2 separate regions of the Homo sapiens genome follow, and region 1 is linked to region 2. The links are contacts of gene promoters, found by promoter capture Hi-C in human tissues and cell types (Jung and others, 2019). All regions are on one chromosome and are shown on one strand. The core of a region is centred on a gene start or on the middle of the fragment in contact, and the rest is flanking DNA. Distances in the headings are between cores, read along the strand shown.

The links. Contacts are between HindIII fragments. The study calls those that stand out against the background at their distance.
Region 1: a contact is called between a fragment that was not itself captured here and the fragment with the promoter of LRFN4 in region 2, in 1 of the 25 tissues and cell types used here (dorsolateral prefrontal cortex).

Annotation. Positions count from the first base shown.
Region 1 is chr11:66,602,721-66,607,634 of GRCh38, forward strand. CCS (copper chaperone for superoxide dismutase) reads left to right here. Exons shown (of 8, transcript NM_005125.2): 6 at 2,619-2,696; 7 at 2,769-2,872; 8 at 2,982-3,299. The coding sequence ends at 3,135. Among named protein-coding and RNA genes, the nearest start is that of RBM14, 11 kb to the right of the region's middle. The HindIII fragment of the contact is 5,698 bases long and covers 1-4,914 here.
Region 2 is chr11:66,855,814-66,860,828 of GRCh38, forward strand. It overlaps LRFN4 (leucine rich repeat and fibronectin type III domain containing 4), which reads left to right and starts at 1,251. Exons shown (of 2, transcript NM_024036.5): 1 at 1,251-3,280; 2 at 3,824-4,662. The coding sequence starts at 1,932. The coding sequence ends at 4,382. All of the region lies in intron 12 of PC (pyruvate carboxylase), which reads right to left. RefSeq lists silencers at 337-866, 1,027-1,136. The HindIII fragment of the contact is 20,544 bases long and covers 1-5,015 here.

The sequences.
Region 1 (4,914 bases), core at 1,473-3,972, 250 kb before region 2:
CCTGTCTTGTGACCTGTGTTTTCTTCCTGGGCCCCAGGTGGGGCAGGGAATCAGAAGGGGCTGGCATCAGCAGCTGTACCTCACCCAATCCCTTAACTTAGACAAGGAAGAACTGAGCAGGAGCTGACCAGCCAAGGCCACGGTGACTGGCAAGTTGCTGTTGGGTTTTAGCATCTGCTTTTCCCAGGTGGAAAAGAATTCCATGTGGGAATTTGCATTCAAGCCTGGTTGTCCCTTGCACATCTCCTAACTGATCTCTAAGCTCCCTTCTGTTCTCTCCTCACCCTGCTCCAGTCTTTACTTTTCATAGACTGCACTAGAAGGATTGTTCTGAAGCCTGGAGTAACCAGGCCATGCCCCTGCCTGAAACTTGTCTTGGCTCCCAGTGCCTGAGAGTACAAGCTGGGCCTAGCTTCTTGATGTGGACATTCAATACCCCACTCCCCCTGCCTATTGCCCCTGCCTGTGTGCTGAGGAAACAGCCTGGAAAGGCTGCCTTTCCCTGAACTCCTGCTGGGTCATGCCTCCAGCCACACTGTCCAGGCTGCCCCCTGCCTTGAGGCCGCTCCTCCAGCCGGGCACAGTGGCTCACGCCTGCAACCCTAGCACTTTGGGAGGCCGAGGCAGACGGATCACTTGAGTTCAGGAGTTCGAGACCAGGCTGGCCAATATGGTGAAACCCTGTCTCTACTAAAAATACAAAAATTAGGCCAGGTGCAATGGCTCATGCCTGTAATCCCAGCACTTTGGGAGGCTGAGGCGGATGGGTCACTTGAGGTCAGGAGTTTGAGATCAGCTTGACCAACATGGTGAAACCCTGTCTCTATTAAAAATACAAAAGTTGGGCCGGGCACAGTGGCTCATGCCTGTAATCCCAGCACTTTGGGAGGCCGAGGCGGGCAGATCACAAGGTCAGGAGATCGAGACCATCCTGGTTAACATTGTGAAACCCCGTCTCTACTAAAAATACAAAAAATTAGCCAGGCGTGGTGGCGGGCGCCTGTAGTCCCAGCTACTTGGGAGGTTGAGGCAGGAGAATAGCGTGAACCTGGGAGGCGGAGCTTGCAGTGAGCCGAGGTCGCGCCACTGCACTCCAGCCTGGGCGACAGAGCAAGACTCCATCTCAACAAAACAAAACAAAACAAAACAAAACAAAAGTTGGCCAGGTATGGTGGCGTGCTCTGTAGTCACAGCTACTCGGGAAGCTGAGACAGGAGAATTGCTTGAACCTGGGGGGTGGGGAGGTTGCAGTGAGCCCAGATCGCACCACTGCACTCCAGCCTGGGCAACAGAGTGAGACTCTGTCTCAATAAATAAATAAATAAATAAATAAATTAATTAATTAAAAGAAATACAAAAACTAGCCAGGCGTAGTGGCGCGTGCCTGTAATCTCAGCTACTTAGGAGGCTGAGGCAGGAGAATTGCTTGAACCCGGGAAGCAGAGACTGCAGTGAGCCGAGATCACACCATTGCATTCCAGCCTGGGCATTGCAATGAGACTTTGTATCAAAACAAAACAAAACAAGCAAAAAAAACCGCTCTTCAGGGCTCTGTATCCCCTCCCCCTTCTTGATCTTTCTACTGTTCAAATCTCCAACGCAGGGCGTAAAAAAAAGTACCAGGTGCAGGCAGCAGATATCCCTCTGGAAAACGAGATAAAGCAGAACTGCCACTTCTTCCTGCCCATCAGTTGGTGGCACAGTGAGATGCCTGGTTACTCAGCAGCAAGGTCATGGGAGCCCACCTGTACTGGCACAGGCACTTGTTTCTGCCCAAAATGTCAGGTTGGGGACAATTTATTTGCACAGATGTGGGTTTCTGTGGCTCACTAGTAAGGCCTTGTCACCCCAAAACACACCAACTGTTGTATTCACCCTGTGTGTCATCACCCCTAGTCTGTTCTGTATCTGGGCCCCCACCATGTTCTGAGTCCCTTGAGGATGGTGACCTGCATACTCCCTGCCATGTTGGGTAGTGTGTCTGACCTAGGAGGTGCTCATAGGTGTGTTATGACAATTTTTATTACCGTCAAAGGAGAAGGAGGGCAGAGCCAGCTTCGAGGGGCTAGGACAGGCCCTTTGCCCCTTGCATTTCCTTCTGTTCCTGGAATCTGGGAGTCAGGGAAATGACACTGGCTGCCTATGATGGTCAGGGAAGCCAAGCTTGGCCAACTTAAGCCTATAGGAATTGAAGACAGCCAAGGGCTCACAGAGCCATCAGGAGGCTGCACAACTGAGCTAACTGGAGGCTGAGAAGCAGAGCTGGGCAATTGCCTCGCCGGAAAAACAGTCTGATCCAATGGGAATGACTGCACAGGCAGGGGAAACTTCCACTGGCTCTTTTCAGCCCACTGTCATCCTGCCCAGGATTTCAGTTCCAGGGAGGGAGTGTTCAGATGGTCCGGGACTTCCTGGACCACTTTCCACTTCCAGACAGGGCCAAGAGGACCTTGCCTGCCCAGTCCTTGGGGAGCTCAGATCCTACGAGACTGGTACCCACAGGAGGAAATGGGTACTTTAGGGAAGCAGGAAGAGGCGTCGGAATCAGGAAATCAGAAGATAGCAGCTTGGCACCACGTGGCACACATCCCCTATACACACACTGGATCTCATTCCAGCACCGCGGAGACCTGGGCAATGTCCGTGCTGATGCTGACGGCCGCGCCATCTTCAGAATGGAGGATGAGCAGCTGAAGGTAAGGTGGAAAAGAAGGTGGGCACCCTTCCTAACAGGGTCCATCATCTGAAGCTGTCGTCTCCCCTCAAAGGTGTGGGATGTGATTGGCCGCAGCCTGATTATTGATGAGGGAGAAGATGACCTGGGCCGGGGAGGCCATCCCTTATCCAAGATCACAGGGAACTCCGGGGAGAGGTGAGTGGTGTCGGCCCCTGTAGGAGGCTGTGCTCTGCGGATGGTGCATGAGGAACCCAGGGGTGGGGGCCAAACAGGTACCCACCCCTGACCACACATTCTTCTGCAGGTTGGCCTGTGGCATCATTGCACGCTCCGCTGGCCTTTTCCAGAACCCCAAGCAGATCTGCTCTTGCGATGGCCTCACCATCTGGGAGGAGCGAGGCCGGCCCATCGCTGGCAAGGGCCGAAAGGAGTCAGCGCAGCCCCCTGCCCACCTTTGAGCAGGACCTCACCTTGGCTCTGTTGCTGTCCTCCAGGGCGAGCACTTTCCACTTCCAGAGGGGGCCAGAGGGACTTTGCCTGCCCAGTCTTTGGAGAGCTCAGTACAGGGCAGGAGCTGCTGTGGTGTTCCCTTGGCAAATGAAAGTTTTATTTTCGTTTGGGACTTGGTGTTTTGTGCTTGTCTCCATGCCCCTTATGGGCTTGGTGAACATAGCTCTGCTTCTTTCCTTTGTATCAGGGCCACCCCTTAGCATTGGAGCCAAACAAACCTGAATTCAAACCTACACACACACTGAAGTCCCCATCTTCCTCCTTGGAGCCATAATGAAGAGCCACTACAGTCAAATTTCTGTTTGTGGCCTCCCCCAACCCCTCACTATGGCTGATTGGAACCAAAATGGACACCTGACCCATGGTGGCCCATGCTTTCCCTGAGAAATCAGGGCAGATCCAGCTTTAGTTTTTTCCTGTGGTTGGACCCATAACATGGGAATATGGGAAGTTTTGGTGGCCCTCTTCTCCCTGCCTTATTGACTGAGCATCAGAAAAAGCCAGTCGGCTAAGGAGGAAAAATGAGGCAGGGAGAATCTAAGAGTTGCTGGAGAATCCCAGTCACTCTGGAGTCCCCTCTCTGAGCCTTTCGTGAGGCCAGCTGCCTCCTGCCTGGGATTGAAGAGATGCTCCCGAATCCTCCTAATGCATCCCCCTGTTAAAATAATCTGGCTTGAGGCTGGGCACGGTAGCTCACACCTGTAATCCCAGCACTTCGGAAGGCCAAGGCGGGAGGATCTCTTGAGCCCAGGAGTTTGAGACCAGCTGGGGGAACAGAGTAAGACCCTGTCTCTACAAAAAAAAAAAATTTAATTAGCTGGGTGTGATGGTGCATGCTTGTGGTCCCAGCTATTTGGGAGGCTGAGGTGGGAGGATTGCTTCAGCCTGGGAGGTTGAGGCTGCAGTGAACCATGATCACGCCACTGCATTCCAGCCTGGGCAACAGAGCAAGACTCCATCTCAAAAAAAAAACAAAACCAAAAACAAACAAACAAAAATCTGACTTTATTCCTTTCAGTCATAAGTAAAAATTATCAATTAACATAAGTGAAGTGCTTGGCACACAGCCTGTCATATAAAGTTAAGGGAGCAGCAGCTATGATTCTGAGGCTGCGTGGGACCCTCGGAGGCAGCCCTAGCCAAGCTCCCCTTTCCTATGGTTGGATGAGCTGCTAACCAGGGTACAGTTTGTGGGGCCTCGGGTTCAGAGCCTCCCTACTCGTCTATTATTTCCCTGTACCCCCATCCCCATGGGGTGCCTTGCTCATCCTTGACAAAGCTGCTTTTATGACAGGGTAAGCTGGCAGACTACAAACTTTGCCCCAAGCTGGCAGACTACAAACGTTGTCCCTACACTGCCTGCTTGGAACTGGGTGGGTGGTTTCGCAGTTAGTTGTCCTTGGCTTCGAGGCAGAGCCCCTGGCTCGGATCCCATTCCCCAGTCCCTGTCTGTTTTCCCTTTCAAGGCTGTGGGTGGGTTCCACCTCTAGCCCCAACCCTTGGACTCTGCTCTTTCTTGCCAAACCTATGCTGGTTCTTTTCCAGCTCCCTGTGGTTGCTGGGAGCCAAACCCTTTTAAGCCCAGACTCAGGCTGTCTTTCCCCACTTCCAAGTCATTGCAGAAATTCATCCTGGATTCTGCCCACAGCTAACCCCTGACATCCTCTCACCTCCATTCTGGAATGATGCCTGGGTTTTAACCTTTTTAAGCCTAAACGGTTCACCAT
Region 2 (5,015 bases), core at 1-2,500:
CATCCAACTCTCCTGGCCTACAGGAGGAACTTGTTTTCAGTGGTCAGGTAACGTGCCCAGGACTACACTGCTGTGCTGACAGGATCAGAATTCCAATCTTGGGTTTCCCCGAGTTTCCTGCCACCTGGCCCATGGGGATCAGGGCTGGAGGGAGAACGAGGATGGCTGAGGTTTAGGTGGCTTAAGGACCAGGAGACACGGGGAGGTGGTGACTTCCTGTTTCCCAACTGGGCAGACCACTGGTGGTGGCGGGCACAGCTGGAAGGAAACCAGGCTCGCCGAGCCACCGAAGCCCCAGCTTTCTCAACCAGGAAGCAAAGAACCTCCCCCACCTCACGCCGGGAGCCCTTTCTCTGAGAGGAGCTGGTTCCGAGCCGCTCTTCCAGGGAAATGGCCCGGCGGCGACAGAGCGGGAGGGAGGGGCCGCAGGCGCTGCGAGGACGCACAGCTTCCCAATGCGTGCCCCCGGCGGTTGGGAAGCCGCGCCGCGCAGACCAATCCGGCCCGAGGCGGAGGCCGGTTGGCTCCGGAACGCCTGGCCCGCGGGGCGGGCGGGGCAGCTGGGGAGGGAGGGAGAGGCGAGAGGCAGCTGGGGACAGGGCGGGGCGGCGGGGGCGGGGCGCCTGCCCGGAGGCCAAGCCCTCTCGGCCCCACCCCGCAGCAGCCCTGCCAGGGGCGCCGCCCCAGCCCCCCCCACGGCCGAACCCCGTGCCGGTTGGGGACCCTCCACGTGACTCGGTGATGCAGAACGGTTATGACCTTCAGCGTGTGTCTGTGAACGCAAGGGTCCCAGCAACAGTGCGGGTTTGCGCTCGGCCCTGCCCGTGGGTGCAGGGACGTGTGGGTGTGTGGGCATGTGTGGGTGTGTTGGGGAGGGTGCCCAGCGACATGTGACAAAGACGCCCGTCTCCGGGAGATGGTGAAGGGGCCCGCGAGCAGGCGCTTTGTCTGGCTGTCTGCAGAGTGAGGTTCGCGCCGCGGCGGCGGGCGCCCGTGCGGTGCAGGATGCCGGGGCGCCAGGATGGCCGGGGGCGCGCGCGCCTGTGCCAGGGTGAGTGCGCTGCGGCAGCGCCGGGGGACAGCGCGGAGGGCCCGCGCCGGCCCGGGCCTCGGGCGTGACTGGGCGCCACCCGTGGGCGCTGCAGCGGCCGCGTGTCCCCGTGACCTCAGGAGCCGGCCCGGGCCCGGGTGGATCCCCGCGCGCCCCTCCCCGTCCGCCCTCCACGTGCGTGTCCGCGGCGCGCGCGCCCGCCGGCGCGCACCCGCTCGCCTGTCGCCGCCGCCACCGCTAACCGCGCCGGGAAAAGGTGCCGGGAACCGAGCGAGCCGGGGCCGCGGGCCCGAGCGCCATGGGCCCGAGGGTGGGCGGCGGGCGGCCGGTCATCCCCGGGCCTCGTCCCCGCGGGAGAGCGGCCAGGAGTCGGCGGGGGCCGGCCGGGCTCGCAGGGAGGCCGGCCCGCGCCCCCTGAGCGACGGACACCAGGTGAGGGGGCCGCCGGGCGCAGCGCGGGGGCCGGCCAGGGAGGGGCCACGGACTCCACGGGAGGTTCGGGGGGCGCCTTCTCTGGCGGGGGAGGGTATGGCGGGGAGTGGGGAGGCGGCTGGCGATTCCTGGGGACGCCTGGGAAAGGAAGTTCCGGGACCCTCCCTGCTCTCGGTCCTCCTCCGCTTCCTGCCTCATGCCTCACCTTGTCCCCAGCGCCTGGACTCCCCCTTAACTGCTTGGGAAATGTGACCTTTGCTCTGGGGGGCCTGGCCCTGCAGGCCCCAACCTTCCCTCATCTCTGGCGGCCCTCTTGGGCCTCTGACCCAGCCCCTCCCCGGGCCAGGCTCACAGAAGCTGGCTTCTGGGACTGTCCTGGGCCCAAGTGGGCACCTGCGCCAGCCCCACCTGTGCCTGGGCTGTGGCCCCTTCCTACAGGGCGCTCACCATGGCCCCGCCGCTCCTGCTGCTGCTGCTGGCCAGTGGAGCGGCCGCCTGCCCGCTGCCCTGCGTCTGCCAGAACCTGTCCGAGTCGCTCAGCACCCTCTGTGCCCACCGAGGCCTGCTGTTTGTGCCGCCCAACGTGGACCGGCGCACAGTGGAGCTGCGGCTGGCTGACAACTTCATCCAGGCCCTGGGGCCCCCTGACTTCCGCAACATGACGGGACTGGTGGACCTGACACTGTCTCGCAATGCCATCACCCGCATTGGGGCCCGCGCCTTTGGGGACCTCGAGAGCCTGCGTTCCCTCCACCTTGACGGCAACAGGCTGGTGGAGCTGGGCACCGGGAGCCTCCGGGGCCCCGTCAATCTGCAGCACCTCATCCTCAGCGGCAACCAGCTGGGCCGCATCGCGCCGGGAGCCTTCGACGACTTCCTAGAGAGCCTGGAGGACCTGGACCTGTCCTACAACAACCTCCGGCAGGTGCCCTGGGCCGGCATCGGCGCCATGCCTGCCCTGCACACCCTCAACCTGGACCATAACCTTATTGACGCACTGCCCCCAGGCGCCTTCGCCCAGCTCGGTCAGCTCTCCCGCCTGGACCTCACCTCCAACCGCCTGGCCACGCTGGCTCCGGACCCGCTTTTCTCTCGTGGGCGTGATGCAGAGGCCTCTCCCGCCCCCCTGGTGCTGAGCTTTAGCGGGAACCCCCTGCACTGCAACTGTGAGCTGCTGTGGCTGCGGCGGCTGGCGCGGCCGGACGACCTGGAAACGTGCGCCTCCCCGCCCGGCCTGGCCGGCCGCTACTTCTGGGCAGTGCCCGAGGGCGAGTTCTCCTGTGAGCCGCCCCTCATTGCCCGCCACACGCAGCGCCTCTGGGTGCTGGAAGGCCAGCGGGCCACGCTGCGGTGCCGGGCCCTGGGTGACCCCGCGCCTACCATGCACTGGGTCGGTCCTGACGACCGGTTGGTTGGCAACTCCTCCCGAGCCCGGGCTTTCCCCAACGGGACCTTAGAGATTGGGGTGACCGGCGCTGGGGACGCTGGGGGCTACACCTGCATCGCCACCAACCCTGCTGGTGAGGCCACAGCCCGAGTAGAACTGCGGGTGCTGGCCTTGCCCCATGGTGGGAACAGCAGTGCCGAGGGGGGCCGCCCCGGGCCCTCGGACATCGCCGCCTCCGCTCGCACTGCTGCCGAGGGTGAGGGGACGCTGGAGTCTGAGCCAGCCGTGCAGGTGACGGAGGTGACCGCCACCTCAGGGCTGGTGAGCTGGGGTCCCGGGCGGCCAGCCGACCCAGTGTGGATGTTCCAAATCCAGTACAACAGCAGCGAAGATGAGACCCTCATCTACCGGTGAGGATGCGTGCCCCACACCCGGCTGCACTCCCGGCGCCCTTCCTCCGCCCTCTGCTCCCCACAAGGCTTTGCTTCCACCCCTCCTCTCTCTGGGGCTGACACCCCCTCCCCGACCATGGCTGCTGGACTCTTGGAGGAGCAGTGGCCTGGCCTGGCCTGGCTGCCTGAGGGGGCTGGAGCTCAAGGGGCGGCAGAAGGACCCCACCCCGAGATGTCCCAGGTGTCACTGAGCTGTGCAGGCCTCCCCGGCAGCAGGTGGCGGTTGGGTCTGTCTGAAGCACATGGCCCGCGCCCGCGTGTTATTTCTGCCTCTGCTGGTGCCATCCCCCCACCCCATTCCCCTCGCTTGCCTGCGTCCTGTGCCAGTGCACACACCCATCTCCTGGCCACACTCTCCAGCCTGTTCACCTTCCTGAGTGAACCCAAGAGCCCGAGTGGCCCCAGGGGGAGGGGTGTTTGGAGCTGGGAGCACGGGAGTGGGGAGGTGAGGATGGGGCTAGACCCCAGCCCCGGGCTCTGACCACCTGCCCTTGCCTGCAGGATTGTCCCAGCCTCCAGCCACCACTTCCTGCTGAAGCACCTCGTCCCCGGCGCTGACTATGACCTCTGCCTGCTGGCCTTGTCACCGGCCGCTGGGCCCTCTGACCTCACGGCCACCAGGCTGCTGGGCTGTGCCCATTTCTCCACGCTGCCGGCCTCGCCCCTGTGCCACGCCCTGCAGGCCCACGTGCTGGGCGGGACCCTGACCGTGGCCGTGGGGGGTGTGCTGGTGGCTGCCTTACTGGTCTTCACTGTGGCCTTGCTGGTTCGGGGCCGGGGGGCCGGAAATGGCCGCCTCCCCCTCAAGCTCAGCCACGTCCAGTCCCAGACCAATGGAGGCCCCAGCCCCACACCCAAGGCCCACCCGCCGCGGAGCCCCCCGCCCCGGCCGCAGCGCAGCTGCTCTCTGGACCTGGGAGATGCCGGGTGCTACGGTTATGCCAGGCGCCTGGGAGGAGCTTGGGCCCGACGGAGCCACTCTGTGCATGGGGGGCTGCTCGGGGCAGGGTGCCGGGGGGTAGGAGGCAGCGCCGAGCGGCTGGAAGAGAGTGTGGTGTGATGGACGGGCAGCTTCCTGTGTGCTCCAAGGGATGAGCCTCGTGGGGCAGAGGGCCCGGGGCCGCCGCCTGGCCTGGGAGTCCCTCCCTGGTTTTTATTCTCAGTACCTCAGGCTCCCCTGTGTACTTGGAGGGGCAGGGAGCCCTTTCCTCGGTTCTGGCCTCCAGACCAGGGTAAGGGCAGGCCCCTCCAACAGGTGCTCACAGCCACCGAGGCAGGGGCTGCAGCCACCCACTGGGAGTCTTGTTTTTATTTATAATAAAATTGTTGGGGACACCTCAGTGCTAGTCTCTGGTGTTGTCTGGCTAGGTCCCCCGAGACGGGAGGACAGGACACGGGCCGCTGGTGGCACACGGACAAGGGTGGGGCTACCAGGGCCGGTGGGGGCAGTCACAGCAGCCTGGGGCCTCCTGGCTTCCTGTCCACAGGGGCGGCCCAGGGCTGCGGCCAAGGGCTGTGCCTGGTGTCTTCTGACCTGCAAGAGCATGGGCTTGGGCAGGCGGCCTACCCTCGCCTGTAAGTGCAAAGAACGCCCCTTCCTGCCAGGTGGCGACAGGACGCCGTATCCAGTGTAAAGCCTGGGGAGCACGTGTGAGCGCCTTCCCCATGGCACTTCAGGGTCTGCGGGGCGGAC